Linked DNA regions of Homo sapiens: region 2 is linked to region 1. Evidence: promoter capture Hi-C in 16 types of primary human blood cells and fetal thymus (Javierre and others, 2016). All regions are on one chromosome and are shown on one strand. Each heading gives the region's core, a stretch centred on a gene start or on the middle of the fragment in contact. The rest is flanking DNA. Distances are from core to core; before and after follow the strand shown. Region 1 holds the start of FBXO11 (F-box protein 11). Region 2 has its middle 22 kb from the start of PPP1R21.

What was found. Contacts are between HindIII fragments. The CHiCAGO score rates a contact against its expected background, and 5 or more counts as called.
Region 2: a contact is called between a fragment that was not itself captured here and the fragment with the promoter of FBXO11 in region 1, in 17 of 17 cell types (total CD4 T cells, activated CD4 T cells, total CD8 T cells and 14 more). The highest score is 40.1, in total CD4 T cells.

Annotation. Positions count from the first base shown.
Region 1 is chr2:47,905,248-47,913,122 of GRCh38, forward strand. FBXO11 (F-box protein 11) reads right to left here and starts at 1,251. Exons shown (of 23, transcript NM_001190274.2): 1 at 242-1,251. The coding sequence starts at 473. It overlaps LOC100506235 (a long non-coding RNA gene), which reads left to right and starts at 303. Exons shown (of 2, transcript NR_187636.1): 1 at 303-552; 2 at 2,071-2,920. RefSeq lists silencers at 24-73, 84-203, 564-753, 1,244-1,343 and an enhancer at 1,413-2,197. The HindIII fragment of the contact is 3,894 bases long and covers 1-2,356 here.
Region 2 is chr2:48,414,566-48,422,440 of GRCh38, forward strand. No RefSeq gene overlaps it. Among named protein-coding and RNA genes, the nearest start is that of PPP1R21, 22 kb to the right of the region's middle. The HindIII fragment of the contact is 1,891 bases long and covers 3,454-5,344 here.

The DNA of each region.
Region 1 (7,875 bases), core at 1-2,500:
AAACCAAACAAAGCGCGGCCTGAGCGAGAGCCCAGGCGAGAAGGGAAGCCGCGGCTTTTCCTGCCGGCCGGGCCCGGCCCGGGCTGACACTGCGGCACCGGGGGACCCGCCTCCGCTCAGCTTGGGTCTCCCACCCCCAGGGCGCGCAGGCCGCCCCCGCCCGCCCGCCCGCCCGCCCGCCCCGGCCTCCCTTCCCGCGGTGCCCGGGAAGGCGGGCGGTTGGGAGGTAGCGCGGCCTTACCCCGCTCGCCGACGTTGTTCCGCTCCTGAGGCAGCGGCGGAGGCGGCGGTGGCGGCGGCGGAGGCTGCTGCTGCTGCTGCTGCTGCGGCGGCGGCGGAGGCTGCTGCTGGGGCGGCTGCTGCTGGGGCGGCTGCGGCGGCGGCTGCTGCGGGGGCTGCTGCTGCTGTTGCTGCACCGGGCGCGGCCGCGACACTCGCCTGGGTCTCCGGTTGGCGGCTCGGACGGAGTTCATTTGCCGGGCTGAGGTGGCGGCGTTGGCGGAGGGACACACACACGCACACGCACAGCGAGCTTCGGGGCAGGAGAAAGGGGTGGGGAGAGTGGGAGAGGGGGGAGGAAGGAGAGGGGGCGAGGGGAAGGGGAGACGCTGAGGGCGGAGGGGGCGAGCGGGACCCCGAGTCCGGAGAAAGGCCCGGGTAGACAGACGGAGACCGAGCGAGGCCGGCCGGGAGGGCCTGACGCACGGGGAAGGCCGAAGCCGCCGGGCGGGGCGGCCGCGAGGGACGAAGGCAGAAAGACGGGCAGACCGAGAGAAAGAAAGAAAGGGCGTCCGCCGCTTGGGGATCCCGAGGCGAAGCGCGGCGGCGGCGGCGGCGGCGGCTGAAGAGACAGATCCCGGTCCCGCCGACTCGCGAGCGGCGTCTCCGGCAGCGGGGGGAGTGGGCGGGCGGGTGAGGAAGGGAGAAAAAGAGAGGGAGAGAAGGGAGGGAGGGAGCAGGGGGCGCCCGGCTCTTTTTTTTCCCTCTTCCTCCCCCCCACACCCCCTGAAAGAGATTTCTGTGAGGAATTTTTCTCTCTTTCTTCGGTCTCTTCTCTCTCCTCCCCCCCTTCTCTCCTCGGCGAAGGGGAAATGAGTGTGAAGGGAGGAGATAGGGGGAAAAAGAGGCGTCGTCCTTCCTCCTCCTTAAAGGAACCTTTCCTCCTCCTCCTCGTCAGCCCTGTCGCCGCTGCTTCTGCTGCTGCTCCGTGGCAGGAGGAGCCATTGACACCGCCGGAGCCTCCACTCGCCCAGTCGGTCCCTCCCCGCCGCGGGGCTGGCCGGGGGCGCGGGGGAGGGCCGCGGGGCGGCGGGGGGAGGGGTGGGTGGGCGGGGAAAGGAGGGGCGGGGATTCCGTCCAGGCGGCCAATCTAAGGCGCCCGTACAACCTTCCGGCCAATGGGGCCTCCGCTCTTATCGCGAAGTCCCTTCAACGCCCTGTTTCCTCTCTCGGGTTTCCTCCCTCCCCCGCCTAGGAGGGGGAAAGAGGAAAGGGGGAGTGTGGCGGGGCGGGTGATAATGGGGAGGTATCAGGGCAAATAATAGAGCAGGGGGTGGGCGAAGAGAGCGCCAGTGCGTAGCGACGATTCTGGGAGAGGAGGTGCTCGGAGGAAAGGGCGGGGGTTGCTGATGTAATGGGGAGAAGTGATTAATCCTTCGGTTCGCCGTTTCAGCTTCCCCCCTACCCCAACCTTCACCCGATTTTTTTGAGCTGAAAAAAAAGTGGAACGAGGGAGCCAATCTTTGGTAACTCGGGTTTTCTGTGGTAGGTGGGTTCAAAATCTGAGCTGTAGGGAGCGCTAGAGATTTCGTGCCCTTTAGCCAAGCTGAGGGTATTTGCAAACCCTGAAGATTTCCGTCTCCGAGCTTTGGGCTTGGTAAGCGAAGTTTGGAGTCGGTGCCTAATCGTATATCATCTAAACCTTGAAAAGGCTTTGACCTTTGGCCAATTTGATTTGTTCTTTGAAGAAGTGTATACAATGTGTGGGAAAATAATATGTGAGAGGAGAGAAGTAAATGTGTTGATGTTGTGATTGTTTATGTGATTTAATTTTTAATTTTTTTTTTTTAGGTCCCACAAACTGCAAGGAAAAGAAAAACCCTCAACAGGAATTACCTTTATACCTGATGCCCCCAACATAATCTCTCTCCAAGGGAAACGTGTTTTTATTGCCTTGCGGCTGAAAATGTATTCTCGATTCTCCCCCTTCTCTCTTTTGTTGTGCATTTTTTGGATGTGGTAAAACTGGCAGTTTATCTGATTATCTGGTTTTCAGAACTTTGGGCGATGTCTCTGAGTGTCATCAGTTGCTCTCTAGGTTTGACATAGATAATTAAGCAACTACAAAGCGTGATAAAGCTTTTGAGAGGGAGGAAAATGTATTTTGGAAGGAGGGAGAGACGCAAAGAGGCGAGCCTGTGTGTTGAGTCCCAGACTTGGTGTGTGACTACAGGCAAAGTACTTCACCTTTCTAGATGTCAGCCCCGCCCCCCTCACCTCCCAAGTTTAAATAAGAACTTATTTTAGACTACATGATCCTGTTTTCAATTTTTAAGAGTTCTGTGATTTTGAGATGATCTCTCTTTAGTCCAGAAAAATAGAGAAACGTAGGTCTATGTTTGTTTCTCAAAAAAATATTTGAGGAGGACAGCTGTTACAAAACAGCTGGAGAACTCCAAATTTTTATGGTGGTTAGCTAGGTGCAAATGGGTACAATTTTAGGTTTGTTCAAATAAACATAGGGGAAAAGTAAAAGTACAGGAAAATTACGTTATACATATAAGTGTGTCCATCATTTCTGATTTTTCTAAAAATTTACTTTTTTATTTGACAAGTACTTTTTGGCTCCTTCCGTGTATGCATTAATATGTATATAAGGTGTTATGGGAAATACTAATAAAAGGAAAATATTGGGCATAAAGAGTTTGTATTTTGGTGTGGCAGAGTGGAAGTTTTACTTACATTAATTCAGATGTAAAGAAAATGTAGCTTGTTTATTTTCTGTAATTTTAACTTCAAGTCCCCACATCATCTCAATTTTTTAAAAAACATAACTGCTTTCACCTTTTATTTCCCCAACTCTCCTTCTAATATATTAATGGGAGGGGCGGGGTTTAGGGTTGTTATATGTGGTATAAGGGGTATCTTTTACATACCCTAGATTTCTAAGTTTATTGCAACAATTCTCTGACATATGGCAGTAAAATGCCTTGTTTTAGCAAAATTAGTATATTATGACAATTTCCTGATAGATGGTAGTAAAGTGTCTTGAGAAAGGAAGCACCTTTTTCAAATTCACAGAGTAACTGGTAGGGTGGTAGCATCCCTGAGGAATAGGGAGGTTTACAAGGGCATCTAAGCCACTAATGCCAGTCCTTATGTTGTCTTCTGGCGTGGAGTGGCTAGTATTGTCTGATGGCAGCCACTGTCGTTTATCATTTATTACTCATAAAACTGGTCATTTCTGTACTTTTGAGGCTGATTTCTTTTGCTGAAATCCATACATGAGCCATTTGCCCCATACACTATAACCTCTTTGTACTGACCCCGAGTCTCCACAGGTCCCTTGATCCTCATGGTTCTCACTGAGACACATGGGTACTTCTGGATTCCCCGAATACCACGTGTAGGCCTTGATGAGCCAGGAGCCTTGCTTTGGGCTTACTAGTTGTTGAGCCACTATCCAACAATGTTGCATTTTTCTCCTTATGTCATATTGAACATGCTGGCAGGCTGAAAGTAGAACTCCTAGACGTCTTAGTGTTTCACAGACATGTCCAGGGACGCAAACCACTATCTCCAACTTTCTTGGATTTCCCTATGTCTCTGTGCATATGTCAACTACATACCCTCAATTCTAGTTTCCACCCTGAGAGGGGATGGAAAGTAAGCACACTGAGTCTGATTAACCTCTTCCTTGTACCCTTTTCTTCTTTCCATCATGCCCCAGGGTTTTTAAGGAATGGATTTTTCTCCTTCCCATTTGTCAGGAACTTTCCTTCTGTACCGTATCCTCTTCATTTTTGAGATTTGGCATTTCTTCTGCTCCCTTTCTTGGAGCCGTGATAGCTGATGAAGTGCTCAAGAGAGAACCCAGTTTAACAATAATGGAACACCTATTGGGAGATATTAAAAAATATTATCCTATCCCTACATTACTGGTTTCTACATATGTTTAGTTTATTTCAGGGATTAAATGTTGAAGTCATCTTTGTGTAAAAGTGTTCAAACTCAATTGTGGAACTTAAGAGTTGTCAGGACGGACCTTGGAGATCATTAAATCTCATTTCTGTATTCAACAGACTAGGAAACTAAACTCCAAAGAAGGGAGGTGACAAAACTATAACTATTTGGTAGCAAAGCCACTGTCTGCCAATCCAGGGCCCTTTCCATTCAGAAGCATTGTAGACAGTATTTTGAGTTCTGGTGAGAACCCAAAATATCCTGGAAGGTTTTATCCATAGGCAGATCCACCTATATTAGTAAATAATTCTGTCAATTAGCTGTCATAAAAGTTATATATGTTAGAAAACAGGAGAAAAATTTAAAAGGATTTCTTTTAGGGGTGGGAGCCACCTAGAATTATTTCAGTAATACTTAGCATAATTTCAGAGGACTGAATTCCCTCAGGGTTTGCTCTCTCTTCAAGAACATTTGTGTTTGTTTTTCTCAGCTAATTACTGGTGCTTAAAAGGTTAGTGTACTTAAAATTATTTGTTTATAAAACCTATCACAATAGCAGTGTGGAAAAAATAAGCTCTTTAATCATTTTAATACCTGGCAGGTGATATTTACTGTGATTCTTAAATTATAATTTTACCATTTCAAAGATTCAGCTTCCCTTTCCTCTGTCATTCTATCATCTAGTCCCAAGCCGTCAGCACTTAGTTACATAAGACACCTCAAAGCTGCTCACTCCTTTTATGTCATTTAAGAAATTAGTTTGATCTGAATATGGTTTCCCTGCAGGAATAACCAGCTCTGTTTAAAATATTCTTGTTAAAGTATGAATGACTTATCTCACTAAGCTGCAAAAATTCATTCTTCAGTACATGCCCAGATAATTTTTTATCAGTTAGGTAGTGAAAATTAACTCGGAACTAAGGATTTAAATTTAACGTATATGTGGGAAAACCTGGTAAGCACACAATCCAATGATACCCAGAAGTTATCTTTAAAGAATTATAGAATCTGACTTTAATACCTTTCCCTGTGAAGTAATACAGAACGCTATTAAAAGAAATCAATTTTGTTCAAGTTTTAGGCTGGACTGTGATACACAGTGGTAAATCTTTGTTTTTTAAGAGCAGAACCAATTTCTTTTTATTATTATTATTATACTTTAAGTTCTAGGGTACATGTGCACAATGTGCAGGTTTGTTACATATGTATACATGTGCCGTGTTGGTGTGCTGCACCCATTAACTCGTCATTTACATTAGGTATATCTCCTAATGTTGTCCCTCCCCCCTTCCCCCGATCCCACGACAGGCCCCAGTGTGTGTGATGTTCCCCTTCCTGTGTCCAAGCATTCTCATTGTTCAATTGCCACCTATGAGTGAGAACATGCAGTGTTTGGTTTTCTTTCCTTGCAATAGTTTGCTGAGAATGATGGTTTCCAGCTTCATCCATGTCCCTACAAAGGACATGAACTCATCCTTTTTTATGGCTGCATAGTATTCCATGGTGTATATGTGCCACATTTTCTTAATCCAGTCTATCATTGGTGGGCATTTGGGTTGGTTCCAAGTCTTTGCTATTGTGAATAGTGCCGCAATAAACATATGTGTGCTTGTGTCTTTATAGCAGCATGATTTATAATCCTTTGGGTATATACCCAGTAATGGGATGGCTGGGTCAAATGGTATTTCTGGTTCTAGATCCTTGAGGAATCGTCACACTGTCTTCCACAATGGTTGAACTAGTTTACACTCCCACTAACGGTGTAAAAGTGTTCCTATTTCTCCACATGCTTTCCAGCACCTGTTGTTTCCTGACTTTTTAATGATCGCCATTCTAACTGGTGTGAGATGGTATCTCATTGTGGTTTTGATTTGCATTTCTCTGATGGCCAGTGATGATGAGCATTTTTTCATGTGTCTGTTGGCTGCATAAATGTCTTCTTTTGAGAAGTGTCTGTTCATATCCTTTGCCCACTTTTTGATGGCGTTGTTTGATTTTTTCTTGTAAATTTGTTTAAGTTCTTTGTAGATTCTGGATATTAGCCCTTTGTCAGATGGGTAGATTGCAAAAATTTTCTCCCATTCTGTAGGTTGCCTGTTCACTCTGATGGTAGTTTCTTTTGCTGGGCAGAAGCTCTTTAGTTTAATTAGATCCCATTTGTCAATGTTGGCTCTTGTTGCCATTGCTTTTGGTGTTTTAGTCATGAAGTCCTTGCCCATGCCTATGTCCTGAATGGTATTGCTTAGGTTTTCTTCTAGGGTTTTTGTGGTGTTAGGTCTAACATTTAAGTCTTTAATCCATCTTGAATTAATTTTTGCATAAGGTGTTAGGAAGGGATCCAGTTTCAGCTTTCTACATATGGCTAGCCAGTTTTCCCAGCACCATTTATTAAATAGGGAATCCTTTCCCCATTTCTTGTTTTAGTCAGGTTTGTCAAAGATCAGATGGTTGTAGATGTGTGGTATTATTTCTGAGGGCTCTGTTCTGTTCCATTGCTCTATATCTCTGTTTTGGTACCAGTACCATGCTGTTTTGGTTACTGTAGCCTTGTAGTATAGTTTGAAGTCAGGTAGCATGATGCCTCCAGCTTTGTTCTTTTGGCTTAGGATTGTCTTGGCAATGTGGGCTCTTTTTTGGTTCCATATGAACTTTAAAGTAGTTTTTTCCAATTCTGTGAAGAAAGTCATTGGTAGCTTGATGGGGATGGCATTGAATCTGTAAATTACCTTGGGCAGTATGGCCATTTTCACAATATTGATTCTTCCTATCCATGAGCATGGAATGTTCTTCCATTTGTGTCCTCTTTTATTTCATAGAGCAGTGGTTTGTAGCTCTCCTTGAAGAGGTCCTTCACATCCCTTGTAAGTTGGATTCCTAGGTATTTTATTCTCTTTGAAGCAATTATGAATGGGAGTTCACTCATGATTTGGCTCTCTGTTTGTCTGTTATTGATGTATAGGAATGCTTGTGATATTTGCACATTGATTTTGTATCCTGAGACTTTGCTGAAGTTGCTTATCAGCTTAAGGAGATATTGGGCTGAGACGATGGGGTTTTCTAAATATATAATCATGTCATCTGTAAACAGGGACAATTTGACTTCCTCTTTTCCTAATTGAATACCCTTTATTTATTTCTCCTGCCTGATTGCCCTGGCCAGAACTTCCAACACTGTGTTGAATAGGAGTGGTGAGAGAGGGCATCCCTGTCTTGTGCTGGTTTCAAAGGGAATGCTTCCGGTTTTTGCCCATTCAGTATGATATTGGCTGTGGGTTTGTCATAAGTAGCTCTTACTATTTTGAGATACGTCCCATCAATACCTAATTTATTGAGAATTTTTAGGATGAAGGGCTGTTGAATTTTGTCAAGGCCTTTTCTGCATCTATTGAGATAATCATGTGGTTTTTGTCTTTGGTTCTGTTTATATGATGGATTACATTTATTGATTTGCATATGTTGAACCAGCCTTGCATCCCAGGGATGAAGCCCACTTGATCATGGTGGATAAGCTTTTTGATGTGCTGCTGGATTTGGTTTGCCAGTATTTTATTGAGGATTTTTGCATCGATGTTCATCAGGGATATTGGTCTAAAATTCTCTTTTTTTGTTGTGTCTCTGCCAGGCTTTGCTATCAGGATGATGCTGGCCTCATAAAATGAGTTAGGGAGGATTCCCTCTTTTTCCATTGATTGG
Region 2 (7,875 bases), core at 3,149-5,648, 510 kb after region 1:
CGGGTAGCTAGTTCTAAGCATTTCCTTATTGAAATACATATTACTTTATTATAAATTAACTCCCTTTTATTTCTCCTTTGCATCTTTCCAGGGAAGGCCTTACGCTGATTCTATTTTTGAGAAGTTATGTGTAGGTAGATTATATTATCTATAAACTTAATTGCAGGATCATAATAATTGCCCTACAAATTTAGCGGGGAGAGAGCTTTGCTCTTGACCATGCCTGTTGTTCTAACTGATACCAATGAATACACACTCAGCCCTTTGTCTGCCTTCTTTGCTTTAGTGCTAAGAGGCAGAAAGGACTGACAATAGCGAGCTAAGCCTTTGGGGTCTGTATTTCAAATAAAACAGGAGTGATTTTTACATTCATCAATGGCAAGCCTGGGTTTGGACACAAATGCAAAAGATGCCTCCTATGCAATGTCATTTGAGAGCTAATTCTCTCTGAGGGTTAAATATTAATCCAGGATCTTCCATGAACTGTTCTGCACACACTAGTTTATTAGAGGACACAGATTGGGATAGGACTCTCTGTTGATATGGGGGAGGCAGGGCCGACACAGCTCTGGAACTCCAGGCGCTCAGAAAGGGAAAGAGGGGGAGGTGAAGAAACCACACTGGCCATCTGGGGGTAGGAAGGAGTGCCAAGGGAAGCAGCATGCACAGGGCCACTGAGAGGACTTGCGGCCAGTGATACCAACCTCACCGTTTGCCTTGGTCAGCTCGCTGGGGTGACTGAATTAACCACATCTCTCTCTCCTTAATTGGAGCAGATAATTGGCAAGCTGGCTTTGTGCACAGGAAATGTGTTCAGATAGATTTGGCGGAGTGTGGCAGGAAGAATGGGGACCACCTGATTTCATCTTGTGCCAAGGAGGGCGACACAAAGCGCCAGTGTCTCCTATGGAGCCTGGCCCAGGCAGAGCATTGGGGGCAGAGAGCCCTGTGCAAACCCACAGGCCGGTGCTCCCTTCAGGAACCTCAGCTGGCTGGGCTGAACTGGGAGCATGCTGGAGCAGCTGATGCTCAGGAGCCCTGGGGCGGGCTCTGTGGTTCAGCTGCTTTGTGACTTTGGCCATGTAATTTAACCTCTCTGTCTGTTTCCTCATCTGCAAAACAACTGAAAAAGAAATGTTATAACGCCTTTAAGATTATGTCACTCCATCCCATGCAACCCACAGATGCTGCTTGAATGCCTACTCTGTGGGTAGAGCTGCTCTGGGAGCTCTGCCTACTTCCTGTTGATCCCTTGTAGGAGTGAGAGGAGTGTAAAACACAAAGATAAACCATAAACAAATCACTGCAGGGCCATTTAAATCTTCACCTTCTCCCCAGAAAAGTCTTCAGCACTTTCACGCCAGGTTGGAAAATATGGCCAAACCTCCTCCCTCAGCCCTTTGCCCAACTCTTTTTCAGAAGTACCCCCAGGAGAGGGATTATTTAGAGATAGTTGTTGCCAGGGTGACAGAAACCAAACATCAACAGAAGTGTCACTATTTCTAAGGACACTTTGAGTGAAGTGCTCATCTGATGACCGACCCCATGACTGCCAGAGGCTCTTTTCCAGCTTTTTGGAATCTTTATCTTAGAAAACCCTTTGTTGTTGTGAAATGCTCTCAGGTCCAGAAAGGAAGTGAGGGTCAGTCAGCAATGCAATCGCAACCCCCTCAGTACACACAAGCAGCACTGTGGAATAGCAACTGTTTTTGAAGGACTCATCTTCATTTGACCCTGGCTTAGAGTTGGTCTATGAGGGCTGTTTCCTGGGGATTTCCACCTGAACTGCAAAGAGCCCTGGCCCCAGCTCATGCCACGTGGAGGATGGAGACAGCTGTATTTCTTGTGTGACTTTCTCTGTGTGGCAAGAGGTAGATGAAGGGAGTCAAGGACAGAGCAAGTCTCTCTACAATCCTGAGCATCAACATAGCAACAGAAGCATTTTGTGACTTGTGTTCCTAAGGGTAAGTTTAGGACAAATTACCAAAGCACATAGAATACACATTTGTAACTGACATTATTATCATTATTTTGCTTTTAGCTCAAGATTTATTCTTCATGATCTAGCAGTTATTCAAATGAGCATTTTCTTTTAGTAAAATCATTTGGCTTAGAGCTATCCATCTATTAATATTACCATTCATTACAAACATTTGAAAGCAGACATGCATTTGTATTTTTTTAAATTAATCTTAGTTATCATGCATAGTTGGGTTTGAATTACAGACACTTGCAAGCTCATAAAAACTGTAAGGGGGATAAATTCATAAAATTTATTTTGCAAATAAATAAGCTGTAAGAATCATCAAATATCTCCAAAGATAAAATGAATCAGGGAGTCACATGTCATTCTAATGACCAGCTTGTTAATCAGAGATTCCATAATTACATTCCTCACTGCACTGTTGTTGTTGTGAGGCTTCAATAAGAATATCAAGTTCTTGGTGCCCAGTAGGCATCTAATAAATGAGAGTTGTTATTAATATGTTTAATCCTCAAAAACAGACATACCTACAAAGACACACACACACACACACACACACACACACACACACACACACACTTATGGTCCTTTTAAAGGAATTCCATCTTTGGTGGAGACAGATGGATACCCCCTTCAGACCCTGAGCGTGAACATTGAATATCTATTCTTTGCTTTTTTGGAGCCTGGGTCATCTGAATACAATAAATATCCCTGAGAGCCTCTGTGAGTTCAGCCCTGGCTAGGTCAGCCCCTGAACACACACTACCAGGCTAACTGGGAAAACAAAACATCTAAGTAGGAAAAACATCCCAAGACTGCATCTGAGTAAGTAATAACTATTCTGTGGCATAGATGGGGTTTGAAGTTCAAGATCCACCTGGAATACAATTGCAAGTGCTGTGCAGAAAGACTCTGTGGGGCCAGGTGCGGTGGCTCATGCCTGTAATCCCAGCACTTTGGGAGGCCGAGGCAGGTGGATCACTTGAGCTCAGGAGTTCAAGACCAGCCTGGGAAATATGGCGAAACCCCATCTCCACAAAAAAATTAAAAAGTAGCCAGACATGGTGGTGCATGCCTGTCATCCCACCTACTCAGAAGGCTGAGGTAAGAGGATCACTTGAGCCCAGGATGTGGAGGCTGCAGTGAGCCATGATCATGCCATTGCATTCCAGTCTGGGCAGCAAAGTAAGACCCTATCTCAAAAAAAGAAAAAAAAGAATTTTCCTCCCGGTCCTGGAGGAGGAATATCTTCAAAACTGCCTGGAAGTTCTGGCTCCTGTCTGGGGTACACCTGAACAGGACCCTCTTTACCAGCCCTATCTGCTCCCTCTGCTCACATAACTGGTTCAACAGCCACACTCCTCATTTCTGTCCCCAAATAGAATGTATGCTTATGTGTGTGGCTTTTCACATGCTGTACCCTATGCCTAGAATGCCTTTCCTCCCATTCCCCCTAAAACTTCTATCAAAGCTTAGAGCCACCCTGAATTGCTCTCCTCTCATAACCCACATCCTGTCTGCCAAGACATCCAGGTGGGCTTCTATATGCTGCCTTCAGAAAACACCTAGAATCTGCCTTTGAGTCACCATATTGGTAGTGAATACCTAATCTCTGAACATGTCCTCTCTTACCTGAATCACTGCAAGAGCTTCCTAAATGTTCCCTGCTTCTGCCCTTGCTTCCCTGGCCCCCTGTATGCTCTCAACACAGCAGCCAGAGTGACCTCCTTGCAACACAGTCAGATCATGTCATATCTCTGCTCAGAATTCTCCAAAGCAGAGGTGGGCTGGAATGGCAAGCATTAGTTAGTGAGGGCCAATCCTGCACATCTCTCCCCTATCTGTGGTCAGGAATGCCACACTCATGGCTTGAAATAGGCCAAGGTGGGAGATTTACCACAGAAATTGGCAAATGCTACAAACCAGGGCTTTTTATTTTTATTTTTCTGAGACCTAGTTGGCCAGCATACCGCTGCTCCTATGATGGTACATTTCTCTCAGAGTCAAAGTCCAGGTCTTTAAAACTCCCCACAAGGCCCTCTGCAATCTGACCTTCTCTCCTCCTTCCTTGCCCTCTGCTCCAGTCACACTGACCTTGCTGCTCTTCAAACATGCCAGCACATTGTAGCGTCAGGGATTTTTGCCCTGGCTGCTCCCCATGTCTGGATCACTTCCCCCAGGTAACCATACCTGGGCTCTGCTTATTCCTTCTCTTATGGTAAGTTCTTGCTCAAATGTCACCTTCTCCTTGAGGCTTACCTGACCACCTCCCCAAAAATGCTAAACCCCTCTCCAACTCTCCTGACCTCCTTACACTGTTCTATTTTCCCCACAGCATTCTAACCCGCTATAGAATGCACTTACTTATTCTATTTTTTATTCATATTTATGCGCGGCATCCCTCCCCGCCACCCCACTAGAATACCACCTCCATGAGGGCAGGGCCTGTTTTCTTCCCTGATGCATTCCAGCACCTATAAGGGTGCCTGGCACCCAGAAGGCACTCAGTAAGCATTTATTGGCTGACCGGCTAACCTGATCTTCAAATGCCCACCTGCTCTGTATATCTTCCCTAAACTTAGCACCTTCCTGCCTTCCTCCTCTCCATCCCCAGAAGGTCCAGGCTTTTGTCCCTCTATGTTAGTGGAGTCCTCTTTGTACATGAAGCTGCTAAAGTGCTTCTGTTGCACCATAATGATTTTCTTACTAATGGCCTCCCCCATCAGCTGGCTATGTCTGAGCTCTTCAAAGCCATCTCCAGCACCTATCCCAGTGCCTGGCACATGCACCACCCCATTGGTCTATTAAATGAACATATGAATGTATAGAGGAACAGTAGCCAGAATTTAATTTTTCACATTGATTCCTTTTCTCCTCCAGAGGCCCCCTTTGGTGATAGCTCTGCTAGGAAGGCCTAGAGCAGGGAGGGACTGGGAGATATCATAGAGGGAGGCAAAAGGGGTGCTTCTGGACTCTATGCTCTGAGCAGTCTGGTTATGACTATCATGCTCCTGCCACTTCTCTGCTCAGCCGTTACTCCTGCCTTTCATAAGCTCTGATCTCCCTTGATCCCTGGCTAGGGTCAGCTTTACACACAGGGAAAGAAGACTGCTGACCGTGGTGTGATGCCAAGGCTTCAGGAAGGGTTCTCATTCCCAAATACTTTCTTTCTCTTTGTGCCACTTTCCTTGGAGTCTTCTTGGAAAGCAAAGCCTCAGCTACCTGGTTCACTGCTTGAGGTCGTGATGGATGCGTAGAGTATTTTCAGTTTTTCAAAAGGTTTTATGGAAATGCTGTTGTTTCTGTGTTGCTCAGAGTCTAGTGGGGGAGTCGGAAGCATGGGGTTATGGTTGTGGCAGAAGCTTCCAAGGAAAAGCTCAGGATGCAGGAAGAATGCCTGAGGGGAGGCCTTTGGCTGGGAGCACGGAGGGGTCCAGGAGAGGAACTCTTCAGGCAGAGCCAACAGCATCTCGGTGAGCACAGGGCAGTGGGGACCGAGAGGCCGCCCGGGCTGGAGGGCAGTGAACACGGGCAGCGCAGAGTGGCACCGAGGAGGGAGGGGCTGATTGTGCAGGCCCCTAGGCCATGACAGGGCTTCTGCTTTTTACTGGAGGCCACAGGGAGCCATCCGAAGCTGCCCCCTCTAAAGGATTTTCTTGAGCGGGAAGTGGCAGGATCAGATCTGCGATTGAGAGAAGCCCTCCCTCTCTCATCCTCCCGCTCAAGCCCTGTGTCCTCTAAAGCCCTGGCTCACGGAGCAGGAAGGTGGCCTGGAGCCCAGCAGGCACTCAGTGCATGGCCAGAGGGAACGGGAGGCCCAGGGGTGTGCAAGAGAATGGGCGCCCGAGCCTGCAGAGCGCCTGGCAGTTTAGAGCGGTCCCGCCATCTTCGGGGTCTTCCCTGCCACAGAGGCTTCTGAAGGTCGAGGCCCCTCGTCTGTCCCCAGTGACGCCCCTGTCCACACGGGCCAGCTCACTCCTGCTCTGCTAGCCAGGCCTATCCAGGACAAAGAAGGGGCTGTGCCCCTGCAGAGAGGGGGGTATCCTTTCCCAACCATCAAGTGAGAAGGAAGGGTCCACACCCAAAGCTAAGCCCCAGGGGAAGACAGGATGTCCCAACACATCCTGTAGAAGCACCTAGTCATCTTCCAGTTACCAATTTGCCTTACTTGTTCTGTTCAAATAGGGTAATTGTTTCCCCAAAAAGACTTGGGTATAGTGGAATGAAGTCACCAGAGACGTGCCTAAACAATGACAAACACCGGTCCTGGGTGCGCCGAAACCCTGGTAACCAGTTACTCAGACTGCGGGGCTGATTTTATCTTTCCTGAAGCAGCCGCGGAGCAAATTCAGTGATGGCACGCCCCCTGGTGGTGATACGAGGTTCTACCAGGCAGAAAGGACCGTTCTGGGGAGCGACTCCTCTGGGTGGAACGGAGAACGGGAGGAGGAGGAGGTTTCCGGACGTTCTCAGCGGCACATATTCATGGCTAATAATAAATGTTGATCTGTTGATTGAAATATGAAATAAAAGTGATTAATATAACCATTAGTAATCAAGGTATTGGAATGTGAGAATTTTAATAAAAGGTAAATCATCAGCCAAGGCAGGAAGAAAGCAGGGAGAGTTGGTCTGATAAGAGAAATAACTTTTGAGAGCGTCCATATACTTTCTGCTTTGACACTGTGGGTATTATATACTGTCTTTGTTTACCTAAGGCAGCCTCTCTTTTTATTTTGAAATTTTTCAAATATACACAAAACAGTGAAAAGAACTATAAATCCCCACATACCTACCACCCAAGTTCTGGAATATCAAGTTTTTGTCACTCTTGCTTTATGTATCCGATTTTATTTTATTTTATTTTATTTTGAGATGGAGTTTCACTCTTGTCCCCCAGGCTGCAGTGCAGTGGCGCGATTTCGACTCACTGCAACCTCCGCCTCCCAGGTTCAAGCGATTCTCCCGCCTCAGTCTTCTAAGTAGCTGGGACTACAGGTGCATGCCCGGCTAATTTTTGTATTTTTAGTAGAGACAGAATTTCTCCATGTTGGCCAGGCTGGTCTTGAGCTCCTGACCTCAAGTGATCTGCTCACCTCGGCCTCCCAAAGCGCTGGGATTACAGGCGTGAACCACCGCACCCGGCTGGCATGTTCTTACATAGCCACACGCCCTTATTTCATCAAAAACATTATGTAGGCTGGGCGCCGTGGCTCACGCCTGTAATCCCAGCACTTCGGGAGCCCGACGGGGGTGGATCACGAGGTCAAGAGATCGAGACCATCCTGGCTAACACGGTGAAACCCCGCCTCTACTAAAAATACAAAAAATTAGCCGGGCGTGGTGGCGGGCGCCTGTAGTCCCAGTTACTTGGGAGGCTGAGGCAGAATGGCGAGGACCAAGGAGGCGGAGCTTGCAGTGAGCTGAGACCGGCCACTGCACTCCAGCCTGGGCGAAAGTGCAAGACTCCGTCTCAAAAAAAAAAAAAAAAAAGAACATTTTATAATTCCTTGGAGTCATCTAAATCAAGCTCGTTCAACCCGTGGCCTGCGAGCCACATGCAGCCCAGGACGGCTTTGAATGCAGCACAACGCAAATTCGTAAGCTTTCTTAAAACATCATGAGATTTTTTGGTGTGATTTTTCCTTTATCAGCTCATCAGCTATCGTTAGTATTAGTGTATTTTATGTGTAGTAAAAGAATTCTTCTTCCACTGTGGCCCAGGGAAGCCAAAAGATTGGACACCCCTGATCTAAATGACCATACAAACAGTCTACATTTAGGCTTTCTTGAAAACTTATTGCAGTTGTCTGGTTGTTAGGTCTCTCTATCTCTCTCTTTCTCCTCTCTCTCCCTCCCTCCCCTTCTCTCTCTCTCCACCTCCCATTCCT